2 separate regions of the Homo sapiens genome follow, and region 2 is linked to region 1. Evidence: promoter capture Hi-C in human tissues and cell types (Jung and others, 2019). All regions are on one chromosome and are shown on one strand. The core of a region is centred on a gene start or on the middle of the fragment in contact, and the rest is flanking DNA. Distances in the headings are between cores, read along the strand shown.

The links. Contacts are between HindIII fragments. The study calls those that stand out against the background at their distance.
Region 2: a contact is called between a fragment that was not itself captured here and the fragment with the promoter of IRAK3 in region 1, in 1 of the 25 tissues and cell types used here (lymphoblastoid cells).

What each region holds. Positions count from the first base shown.
Region 1 is chr12:66,184,627-66,190,642 of GRCh38, forward strand. IRAK3 (interleukin 1 receptor associated kinase 3) reads left to right here and starts at 4,588. Exons shown (of 12, transcript NM_007199.3): 1 at 4,588-4,806. The coding sequence starts at 4,674. RefSeq lists silencers at 4,693-4,742, 4,763-4,922. The HindIII fragment of the contact is 8,386 bases long and covers 983-6,016 here.
Region 2 is chr12:66,617,414-66,623,429 of GRCh38, forward strand. All of the region lies in intron 1 of GRIP1 (glutamate receptor interacting protein 1), which reads right to left. Among named protein-coding and RNA genes, the nearest start is that of GRIP1, 59 kb to the right of the region's middle. The HindIII fragment of the contact is 3,841 bases long and covers 1,508-5,348 here.

The sequences.
Region 1 (6,016 bases), core at 3,338-5,837:
TTAGAGTTCAGGGAGAAGAGGAGGAACAGCAAAGGAAGCTGTGGGGTGATCAATGAGGTAAGTGAAAAATATAAGAGAATGTGGTGTCCTAGAAGTCAAATGAAGAAAGTTTCCAAGGAGGGGGTGATCAACTGTATCAAAACTACCAATAGGTCAAGTAAGTGAGGACTGGAAATTAATTATTTTACGTAGCAATGATGTGGACATGTGTGACCCTGAAGAGAATAGTTTTAGTGGAGTAAAGTGGGAGGGGTGCTTCTAATTAGAGTTGGTTTAAGAGAAGATGGGAGGAGAACATTGGACACAGTGAGAATATTCAGCTCGACACTGCAAAGGGGAGCAAAGAATTGGGGCCAAAGACAGAAGGGGGAAGTGGCATCAAAAATTTTGGTTTGCATGGAATACTATGCAGCCATAAAAAATGATGAGTTCATGTCCTTTGTAGGGACATGGATGAAACTGGAAACCATTATTCTCAGCAAACTATCGCAAGGACAAAAAACCAAACACCACGTGTTCTCACTCATAGGTGGGAATTGAACAATGAGAACACATGGACACAGGAAGGGGAACATCACACACCAGGGCCTGTTGTGGGGTGGGGGGAGTGGGGAGAGATAGCATTAGGAGATATACCTAATGCTAAATGATGAGTTAATGGGTGCAGCACACCAACATGGCACATGTATATGTATGTAACAAACCTGCACGTTGTGCACATGTACCCTAAAACTTAAAGTATAATAATAATAAAATTTAAAAAAATTTTGGTTTAAGTTGAAAGAAACAACATCATATTTGTATGCTGATGGAATTGAGGTGGTAAAGAGTGAAAAACTGATCATGTAACAGGGACCAGGGAAAGCATGTGCCCTTGATGCCTTTGAAATGGTAATAGGGATAGGATCCAGTGCACAAACGAAGTATAATGATTTACATAGGACCCTAGATAATTCATCCATGGAAAACACGAAGAAAGAGTATGTTGGCAAAGATGCTAGTAGATAGTTCGATGTAGTAGTGAGATTCCGTGGAAGTTTTTTCCTGATGCATCAGTATTCTCAATAAATATTCTCAAGATAATTGGTGGAGGACAGGATGATGGGAGTTGAGAAAAAAGAAAGTATAGCATAGCTTTCAAGGAGACCAGAAGAATGCATGGGCTAAAGGTGCATAGTATGCTTGTCCAGTGGCATAAAGGACCCACTTGAGAGTCTTGGCCTTGATTTTAAATTGAGTTCAATTAACAGGATTTTGGTTTTCCACCCCGTTCCCCAGCTACACTCAGGTGCATGGGTGTGGAGCCAACTTAGAAAATTGGATTTAATCAGAATTGCAAACTTGCCAAGAGAGCTCAACAAAGTGAGAGAGGAGCAAGGGAATGTAGAGCATATGCAAAGGAGTGAATAAAATAATTGACCACAGACTTAATGGATAAGCAGAAAAGTCAGGATGTCAAGAGGGTGGAGCCAGAAAAGAGGCAGCAAGATTTTGGATTGGATATCTGGTGAAGGGACAGGATTGTTGGGGTCAGAGTACTAGAGGGAATGTGCTAGAAAGACAGGAGGTATGATCAGAGAGTGGATTCATGAAAGAAATTATAGATGGGATGCAGCTATTGATAATGACAAATTCTAGGGGACGCTCATGGGAGTAAGTGTCTGAAATGGAGCATTGGGTGGAGTACAATGTCACCAGAGAAGAGGAGTCAAGGAAATGAGAGGCCAGGGCATTGGAAAGATCACCATCTATTCTACATATATATATATATATATGTGTGTGTGTGTGTGTGTGTGTGTGTATGTTTTAATTTTGTTTCATCAACTTTTATTTTAAGTTCTAGGGTACATGTGCAGGATGTGCAGTTTGTTACATAGGTAAATATGTGCCATTGTGGTTTGCTGCACAGATGATCCCACCACCTAGGTATTAAGCCCAGCATCTATTAGCTATTGCTTCTGATTCACTGCCTCCCCCTACCCCCTCCCCTGACAGGCCCCAGTATGCATTGTTCCCCACCAAGTGTCCATGTGTTCTCATGGTTCAGCTCCCACTTATAAGTGAGAACATGCAGTATTTGATTTTCTGTTCCTGTGTTAGTTTGCTGAGGATAATGGCCTCCAGCTCTATCCCTATCCCTGCAAAGGACATGATCTCATTCCTTTTTATGGCTGCATAGTATTCCATGGTGTATACATACCACGTTTTCTTTATCCAGTCTATCATTGATGGGCATTTGGCTTGATTCCATGTCTTTGCTATTGTGAATAGTTATTCTACATATATTTTAAATCACTGAGAACTAAGATAGGATTAGTACTGGAGAGAGCAACAATGAGCCAGGAGCTAGAGAGTCTAAAAACGAGGAGAAGGAATTGGAGTCGGGGAGATCAGCAGTTGATAGCAACCATGATGATACAACCTGATGATATAAAAATCAAAACTCAAGACAGTTTTAGGAATAGGAAGGCAACATGGTCTGAGAACGACTGCCAACACTGAAAATACAGGAAATTTCACATACTCTAGCTTTCACTTAGGATCCTTGCTTCTTGGTAAATTACAAGATCTGGTAAAGCAGGCCTTTCTGATTGCTTCCCTCATCTGCAGTGATTTCCTGTTTCCTCTGAGTGAGTTTGCCTCCCTGTAGTAGCAATTCAAAAGCTACCAAATAATTAATGGCCTTTTGCCTCTGTTGCTCAGCATGTTCAGGTAGTCCCTTTAAGAGATGTATAGAGGGCCGGGTGTGGTGGCTCATGCCTGTAATCCCAGAACCTTGGGAGGCCTAGGGAGGTGGATCACTTGAGCCCAGGAGTTTGAGACCAGATTGAGCAACATGGGAAAACCCCGTCTCTACAAAAACTACAAAGGTTAGCCAGGCATGGTGGCATGCACCTGTAGTCCCAGCTGTACTGGAGGCTGAGGTGGGAGGATGGCTTGAGCCCAGGGGGTGGAAGTTGCAGTGAGCCGAGATCGCACCATTGCACCCCAACCTGGGCAATCAGAGCGACTAAAAAAAACAAATAAGAAAGAAAGGAGGGAAGGAAGGAAGAAAGGAGGGAAGGAAGGAAGGAAGGAAGGAAGGTAGGTAGGTGTACAGTGTGTACAGATTGACAATAAAACCTTGAACAACGGGATATCGAAATTCTTGCCCACACAGTATGGGCTTTGCCAGTTTTCAGATACATTTTTATGAAGTATTTTCGCTGGCAAAACCATTCAGGTAGGGGCATGAAATGATAGTGTTTCATCACTCGTGATCTCTAGGGGCAGCTATTCCAAAGACTACAATCTGAGAGGTTTCAAAACACCTCTGGTGTTTTCACTTGATGGCCACTGCCCACTCTTCCAGTCACTAAGGCTGAGATTTTTCTCACCACTTTCAAAACAACTTTTTGTCACTGGTAACATGCCTCATGTGACCTAGAAGATTTTGAAACAACAATTTTACTTAAACTCCGTGAAGATTTCAAAACAACAATTTTACTTAAACTCCATGTTGAAGGCAAAAAGGAAGATTGTGTGAAGCACTTTGAGGAAGGAAAAAATGATGGAACGATATTTCATCAAGGAAGCCCATGAGGAAGAAAATTTATTAAAACCAAGTAGGTGTATGGAGGAGAGGCCGCCTCGTGAAGAAAACGAACATAATTTTACGCTGATTTGGTGTCTTTTCTGTTTTTCTCTTGTTGGTATCTACATTCATCTTTTCCAATAATAATCCCATATATGTACATTTTTATCTGTTTAAATTCAGTAAAAGTTGGGAGGAAAATGTGTCAAAACTTTTAGAGTGTGATGGGCTGAGTGGGGTTGTGAGTGATTATCTTCTTTTTTCAGTTTTTTTCTGGGTTTTCCAAGTGTTCCTCGATGAACATGGATAGTTTTTCTGACAGGATAAAAAAGAAGTAGTCCGGGACAGTGGCTAACACCCCGAATCCCAGCACTTTGGGAAGCCGGAGGTGGGAGGATCGCTTGAGGCCAGGAGTTTGAAACCAGCCTGGGCAGCATAACGACACTCCCTCTCTACGAAAAACGAAAAAAAATAATTAGCCGGACGTGGTGGCGTGCGACTGTGGTCCCAGCTACTCGGGAGGCTGAGGTGGGAGGATCGCTTGAGCCCAATAGGTGGAGGCTCCGTGAGCTGAGATAGCGCCACTGCGCTCCTGCCTGGGCGACAGAGTGAGAACCTGACTCAAAACAAAGAAAAAAGGAAGAAAAGAAAGGAAGGGAAGAAGGAAGGAAGGGAGAAGCTTTCAAAAATAAACTTTTGTAAGAAGTAATGACACCGCTAGCCGTCCACACCAGGAGACCGCCTAGCCGTGGGGCACGGTGGGCTCCTGGGAGCTCTGAGCTCTGGGCTTTCTCCAGTTCGCACTCTGCTTGTCTCGGCAGCTCCGTCCCCACCGCAGAGGTGTGAAGGGGCGCAAAGCCAGCGAAGGGAGAACCCGGGTCGGGTAACCCCCAGGCCTGGCCAGGCGGACGCAGGGGCATCTCGGGCGAGGCGCGCCTTGCGTCACGTGGGCACCGCCCCTGCAGTGACCGGAGAACGGCGTGTTCCTAGGGCTCTGCTGCCGTCGTGGAAGCAGGATTTCCGCGGTTGTGTAACGGCCTGTCGCAGGCGTGCAGGGACCTGGACTCCGCCTCGTCCCCGGGGCTCGGGCAGCCGAGCCATGGCGGGGAACTGTGGGGCCCGCGGCGCGCTGTCGGCGCACACGCTGCTGTTCGACCTGCCGCCCGCGCTGCTCGGAGAGCTCTGCGCTGTTCTGGACAGCTGCGACGGCGCGCTGGGCTGGCGCGGCCTGGGTGAGTCGGCGGGGACCGGCCGGGGGCGGCGGGGGAGCCCAGCGCGCCGCGGGGCCCGCTCGGCGTCGCCCTGCATGGCTGGGGTCCCTCGCGGGGCTGGCGCGGCCTCCGGGAAGTTCCCGCCAGGGAGCCGGCCCCCTCCTTTCCTGGGTTGGATGCAGAGACTCCCTGGGACCCAGATGCCTTCCCTCCCTTCTCTTTCAAAGAATTTTGGGTATCGCTGCAAAGTCAAGGGAGCCGAGGCCTGGGAAAGACAGATAACCAGCGTGAAAGCATCTTCTGTTCGTCCGCGATGCCACCCTCACTGGGTTCGCAATGTATGATGTCTTCTGGTCCTTGCAAAATCACCCCAGAACATCATTTTAGTATTGAGACATTTTTAGAACTTTGAGATACTTATCCTTTGGTGTTTTCAATGCATCCCTAAGCCCCTAACTTAATTACAAGTGAAATGCTAAAGTAAACTACGGTTTGCAATGAACGCGGCTCCTAATTTTCTTAATTAAATCTTATTTACCCAATTTCGTTGAATGAAGGTTTATGCTAAAGGGTGGCTTTTTATTTTAATCTAAAAAAATTGGCTTCAGAACTGTATTTTATGCAGACATTGGAAAGTTGAGCAACTGCCTGCTGGAAGTGTTGAGTGTAGCCAGAGATAATTCGGACAAAAATCTTCGTTTTGTTAAGTACAGGCATTTTTGGTTAGATTTGATATTCCACAATGTCATGTTTAATGTTTATTGAAAAGAATCATGATTATGTCAAAATAACTTAGCTTTAATGGTCTGAAATAGGATTTTTCTTACCAGGACTAGCAGAAGGCCTAAGAGGAGAGTTTTCTTTGTTACTGATGAACAGTATGGTGACAGTCTTTGAATTGTAGCAATGGGCTTCTGGTTATACAAAAAATGTTTATATATTTTAAGCTCTGTAATTTTAAGTTATGGCCCTTAAGAAAAAAAAAAAAGTCTGATTTCTAGAAAACGAGATTTCCAGTGTGCATTTGAGGGATTTTGAGGGATAAGGTCACTTCCCCATCAGATCTTTTTGAGATGGATTTTGGCGTGGACAGTATTTATACCCGTTGATTTCCTAGAGTTACTGACTTTGAGAAAGAAAAGTGTTTTTAGTCCAGTTTAATGTTGGTGAATGGGGCCAGGTGGGTGTGGTAAATTAGTGAGGCAGATTATTCTCTCTCTTTCTGTTGATA
Region 2 (6,016 bases), core at 2,178-4,677, 430 kb after region 1:
CAAAGCTAATGATATCAGCGAACTTGAATCACCACATGAACTAATTTAGCAATATGAATGCTTCATCACATTCTCTCTTTATTTCTCTCAATATTAATTAGAACCACTTTCCAAAGAAAGTGGAAGTTCCAGGGATGATCTGAATATCCCACTTTACTACCCACAGTGGACATATTCCAAGAGTCTGGCCACAGAGAGACTGGCTTTGATTAGAGCTCAGTTTTTAAGATATTCCAAATCTGGGATATTAACTTATTCTTGATTTTAACACATCATAACCAAAAAACATTATAAAATGGGCTTATGTTATTAACAGAAATTCACAGAAAAAGAAATACTACTGGCTCATGAAAGAAAAGATGTTCAACTTCACTCATAAGAAATGCATATTAAAGCCACAGGAAATATAATCTTTTTCACTTCTTAGATTAGCAAAAACTTGCAAGTTGATCAACATACATGCTTTTCAGGCTGTGGGGAAACTTACTCTCATACATTTCAGGTGGGAATATGATCTGATATAACCTTTAAAGAGGACAACTTGGCAGTATTTATCAACATTATACATGCATATACCATTTGACCCAGAATTCTACTACTGTGATTTATCTTACAGATATGTCTTCCCATGTACATAATAAATATATTCGTTATAGCAATTTCATAATAACACAATATTTGAAATAGCTCAAAACTTCAAACAGACTGGAAACAACTCAAATGTTTCTAAATAAAGAATTGGCTAAATAGAGTAGTACAACAACAAGAAATCAGTAGGTGTAGTGACAGGCACCTGTTGTGCCAACATGCAAAGATCTCCAAGATATATTTTCAGTGGAAGCAGCGAAGTGCAGAGCAGTGTGCATATGCTATATTTTGTTTTAAAAACAGAAAATTACGAATATAAATTTATAGTTGCTTCTATTTGCATAAAGAACATCTGGAAGAATTCTAAGAAACCAATAAAAGTGGTTTTCATTTTGTGTACGAAGTAGAAACTGGCTGGTGGGGGATATGGAGGAGAGTGAATCTTTTCACCATATATCTTCTCATATGTTTTGAGCTTTGAATCATAAGGCTGTACTAGAAACTACCTGCTTTGAATCTATCTATTAAAAAAAAGTAAAAATAAAGCATGATTGATTAGGATGTCATAATTTCTGAATTTTCCAAAAACATATTGCATATATATTACTGAATATACTTAAAATATCTTTTGCAACTTTCTTTGCCAACAAAGTCTAGTAAATATAAAAAGATTAACATTGAAAGACATTTTATTAATACATGTGCATAATGAAATGTTTATTTATCAATATCCACTAATGCATGTTGTGAATGAACTTTCCTTCACTTCATACTTGTAAAACAATTAGGAATTAAAGCTTATTGGATGGAGACTGCTGAAAAAAGGCAAGCACCATCATCATCTATAGTAAAAACAAAAAATGAGATGTTCAGTAGCTATCACGTCATCTTGGTAGGATAAATAAAGAATATATTTATTTATCGTAGGTTTTGAATACTGAGAAATTCGAACTCGTATTATTCTGTTTCAAAAAAGGATGTTCAGGCAGATATGAACCGAAGCAAATACTCAGATAAAAGTGTAAACAACGTTTCCTTCAAGCTTTGTTGTTGTTGTTACAGTTGTTTGAGGTCTTCTTTGTGCAATTAAAAATGAAAGAAAGAACCCAAGGAATGAAGATCAAGATAAGACAAAATAAGATAAACTAGAACATATACATTAAAGTCAAAGTAAACCCTGTGAATAGAGAAATAGTTTGGGATCCATAGGGTGAGCAGCAAGCAGCACTAAAATATGAGTGCTATTTCTCTTTTAAAACAGAGTACAAAGCCTATAAAAGGTACTTTTGGATGGGCACATTATGTTCATAATTCATAATTTTAAAATGACCCATGAGAACCAGGTACTAGACCATAGGGCCTAATGAGTATTCTAGAGTAGAAAAAATGAACATAAGGAAAGAGAGCCATTACGGGTAGATTTCCTTGCCCTCCACAAATCAACCACACTTAGGGACTATTTTCTTTCCTCTTAGTGGCACCTTTGACAAAAATAGCAGCCCACAAAATTTGCACTAAAGGCCCACTTCAAAAATTAGAGCAGTAAGGTTCCAGTGTTGCCATGTGCCAGAAGTAAAAGAAAAAAGGGCCATACATGAACATGGAAATAAAATCAATGAGGGTTACACAATGGCCAATTTATTAAACTTTTTAATTTTTATCTGCTTTGTGCAAGAAAACCAAAAGGAGGAAATAAAAAGATTTGAGGGCAATTATGAAGCAAAAACCTTCTAAAAGTGGTTGCAAAAAACAGATGACTAGATATTATCCATCTAATTTTATTGTCCAGTGAAAGAGCAACATCCAAAGGAAATTCTGCATGTACAGAGGGTTAAAAAGGGTAAGATTTTAAAATACCAGTTACTATTATATTGTTTTTAATTGTTAAAGGGGAAGTAAAAGTAATTGATCCTTTGGGGTTGAACTTACTGCCTCTTAAAAACCTCTAGTAGCAACAACTCTTCTTTAGAAAACATTTCATAATTTCAGTGAGACTTTACATCCATTACTTCATTTGATGAGTCGCTATCATCCATATAATACAGATAATATATGGAGATCAAAGCTCAGAGGCATTAAGCTACCTGCTCAAGTTTACATAGGTAGAAAGTAGTGGAGCAGAGATTCAAACTCAGTTCATGACTTCACAAATTGTGTGCTCCACACATCCTGAAGAATATGAATATGTGCAAGTAACGGTACCCTGGCAGTCTTAGATTAAAATGAGTCATTCAATTCCTCTCAAGAGTGACTAGCTAGGGCCTAAAGGTATTTTGATGATTTCTGCCAATGATCTGCTGAGGGAGCTCTCAAAATTAGGTTCAATGTTAGTTATGAAGACACATGGATGCAATGCCACCATCCAGGACCTTTGATTCCCTGTACCCAAAAGGACAATATAATTTTCAGCCATGAGTGGAGCAATGAATTGATTTTCCTTTGATTCACATTCCTGAGTAGGCTGCTTTAGAACCATGGGAAAGCTTCCACTCTCACCTTCTGGACATTCTACTTCATTATCAGGCTGATGTTAACAATAAGAGATGTTCAAAGAACAATAAACATGGCTAAGAAGCTGGTGGGATTGATTTTACACTCCAGGTAATAGCTCTCTGAGGATACTGTGCCTTTACAAAGCTGCTGATCAGTGCATTCTTTCTCTTTCTTTTTCTTTTTTTTCTTTTTCTTTATTTCTCCTTCCTGCCTTCCTTCCTTCCTTTTCTCCCTCTCGCTCTCTTTCTCTTCTTATGACACTCTTCCCACCCCTCACCCCCCCAACCCCTCCCCCCCAGACTTTTAATGGCCAGGGGAGGAGGGGGAAGAGTGGTGCATAAGCTGCTTCTTCCTCATCATAAATTAAGGGTTGGTTGTAGAAATTCTTTTGAAGACTGGAGGCTGCAGCATGATGATTCACTTTTCCTGCCCAAACTTCCCTAATTCACTCAGGTTTAGACTCTTCCAAATCCCAGAGGCAAAAGATAATGAATAAATTAAGTTTTCAGAAATTACTGTATTTAGAAAAGTTTTAACATATTTTTGGAAAAGCATTTTATAAATTGCAAAGCAGAGCGATTTCATTTACATTTTTTATATTATGGTAAAATAGACATAACACAAATTGTTCATTTTAACAATTTTTAAGTATACAGTTCAACAACATTAAGTACATTCACAGTGTTGTGCACCCATCACCCCTATTATCTTCAGAACTTTTTTTTATCATCCCAAACTGAAACTTTGTACTAATTAAACAATAACTTCCCATTGTCCCCCCACAGTTCCTGGTAACCTCTATTCTACTTTCTGTCTCTATGAATTTGCCTATTCTAGGCAACTCACATAGGGCAGTGACATAATGTGTGTCCTTTTGTATCTGGCCTTTTCACTTAGCATAATGTCTTCCAAGTGTATCCACATTTCAAGATGTATCAAACTGCATTACCTTTTATTGCTGAATAATATTCCCTTGTATGTATACATTTTGTTTATTCATCTGTTGATGGACATTTGGCTCGTGTCCACCTTTTGGCTATTGTGAATAATGCTGCTCTGAACAGTGAGGTACAAGTATCTGTTTGAGTCCCTGCTTTCAATTCTTTGGGGTATATATGTAGGCGTGGAATTGTGGATCATATGTTAATTCTATGTTTAAGTTTTTGAGGAATCCCCAAACTGTTTTCCACAGCAGCTACACTATTTTATATTCCCTCTAGTAATGCAAAAGGGTTACAGTTTCTCCACATTCCTGCTAATACTTGCTATTTTCTGTTTTTTAATAGCCATCCTAATGGATATAAAGTGCTATCTTACTATGGTTTTGATTTGCATCTCCCTAATGTCTAGTATTGCTGAGTATCTTTTCTTGTGCTTATGGCCCATTTGTGTATCTTCTTTCGACAAAGGTCTTTTCCAGTCCTTTGCCCATCTTTGAGTTAGGTTGTTTGTTTTTGCTTTTGCTGTTGAGTTGTAAAATTCTTTATATATTTTGGATATTCTTTGTCAGATATATGATCTGCAAATATTTTCTCCCATTCCATGGGTTGCCTTTTCATTCTGTCAATAATGTACTTTGATGTACAAAAGGTTTTAATTTGGAGAAGTCCAGTTTATCCTTTTTTTTCTTCTGGTGGCTGTGCTTTTGGTGTCATATCCAAGAAATCACTGTACTGATTCCACTTTGATTAACCTATAATACAATTAATTTCTAAGCAGAACCCTTGAGTTATGCTACAAGTCACTTTTGCCCCAAATAAATTCCAAACAAATACAATGTGATGGAGGAGGGAGAGGAAGTGGGGATGGGTAATGGGTACAAAAATATAGATAGAATGAATAAGATCTAATAAGATCTAGTATTTGATAGCACAACAGGGTGGCTACAGTCAACAATAATTTATTGTGCATTTAAAAATAAGGAAATATATTTGGATTGTTTGCAACACAAAAAAAGATAATTGAGATGCTGGATACCCCATTTACCCTAATGTAATTATTATACATGATATACCTGTATTAAAACATCTCATATACCCCATGAATACATACTATGTACCCATTAAAACCAAAAAATATATATACAATGTGAGAGGCTAAAGAGCAAGCATGCCAGGCAACTGAATACTGTTTCCAATTGATCTTAAGGTCCAGACAACATGGCACATGGTTTTCTCTGTTACCTGGTCCCTGCCTACTTTTTTAGTTTCATTTCCCCCTTGCCATCTAACTTCAATGATCTGGAATTCTCTGTCTCTAAAATACTCTTCATTTTCCCTATACCTGCCTTACTCATACTCATCCTTCTAGTCTCAACCCAGTCATCCCCTCTTTCGGGATGTTTCACATGATCTGTTCCTATTTCCACCTACTATTCATGCAGTGAAAGGGTTGATGTGCTAGTTTGAGCTCCTGCGGCACCCCATATGTTGTTTACTACAAGATTTACTATACAGAATTACTGTTTACTTAGCTGTCTCCCCCTCTATATTATGAATTCCATGAGGACATTGAGCATGATTTTAGTTTATTTTTATTACTATATCCTCAGTATCTAGAATACTTCCTGATGAACAGTAGATGCTCAGTAGGTAACTGCCGAATGAATGAATGAATGAACCAGACTAATAGCCTTGCCAAAAGTTTTCTGTTTCTAGAAGTAGTTACAAGAAATATTTTCATGGAGAGGCATAACATTTAGAGATATAGCCTAAGTCTCTCTGCTTTTCTTAATAATTTATCTTCAATGAACTTTATTTCATAAATCTTTAATCAAAGTAGTGTCATAAGCACTTTATAAGTATTAATTCATTTAAACTTCACAATAACTTGATAAGGCATTCTTATCTGCAGTATTCAGGAAATGAAACAGAAGCACAGAGACGTTAAGTAGCTTGCCCATTGTCACATAGCTGCTAACTGGGATTGGGCCTAC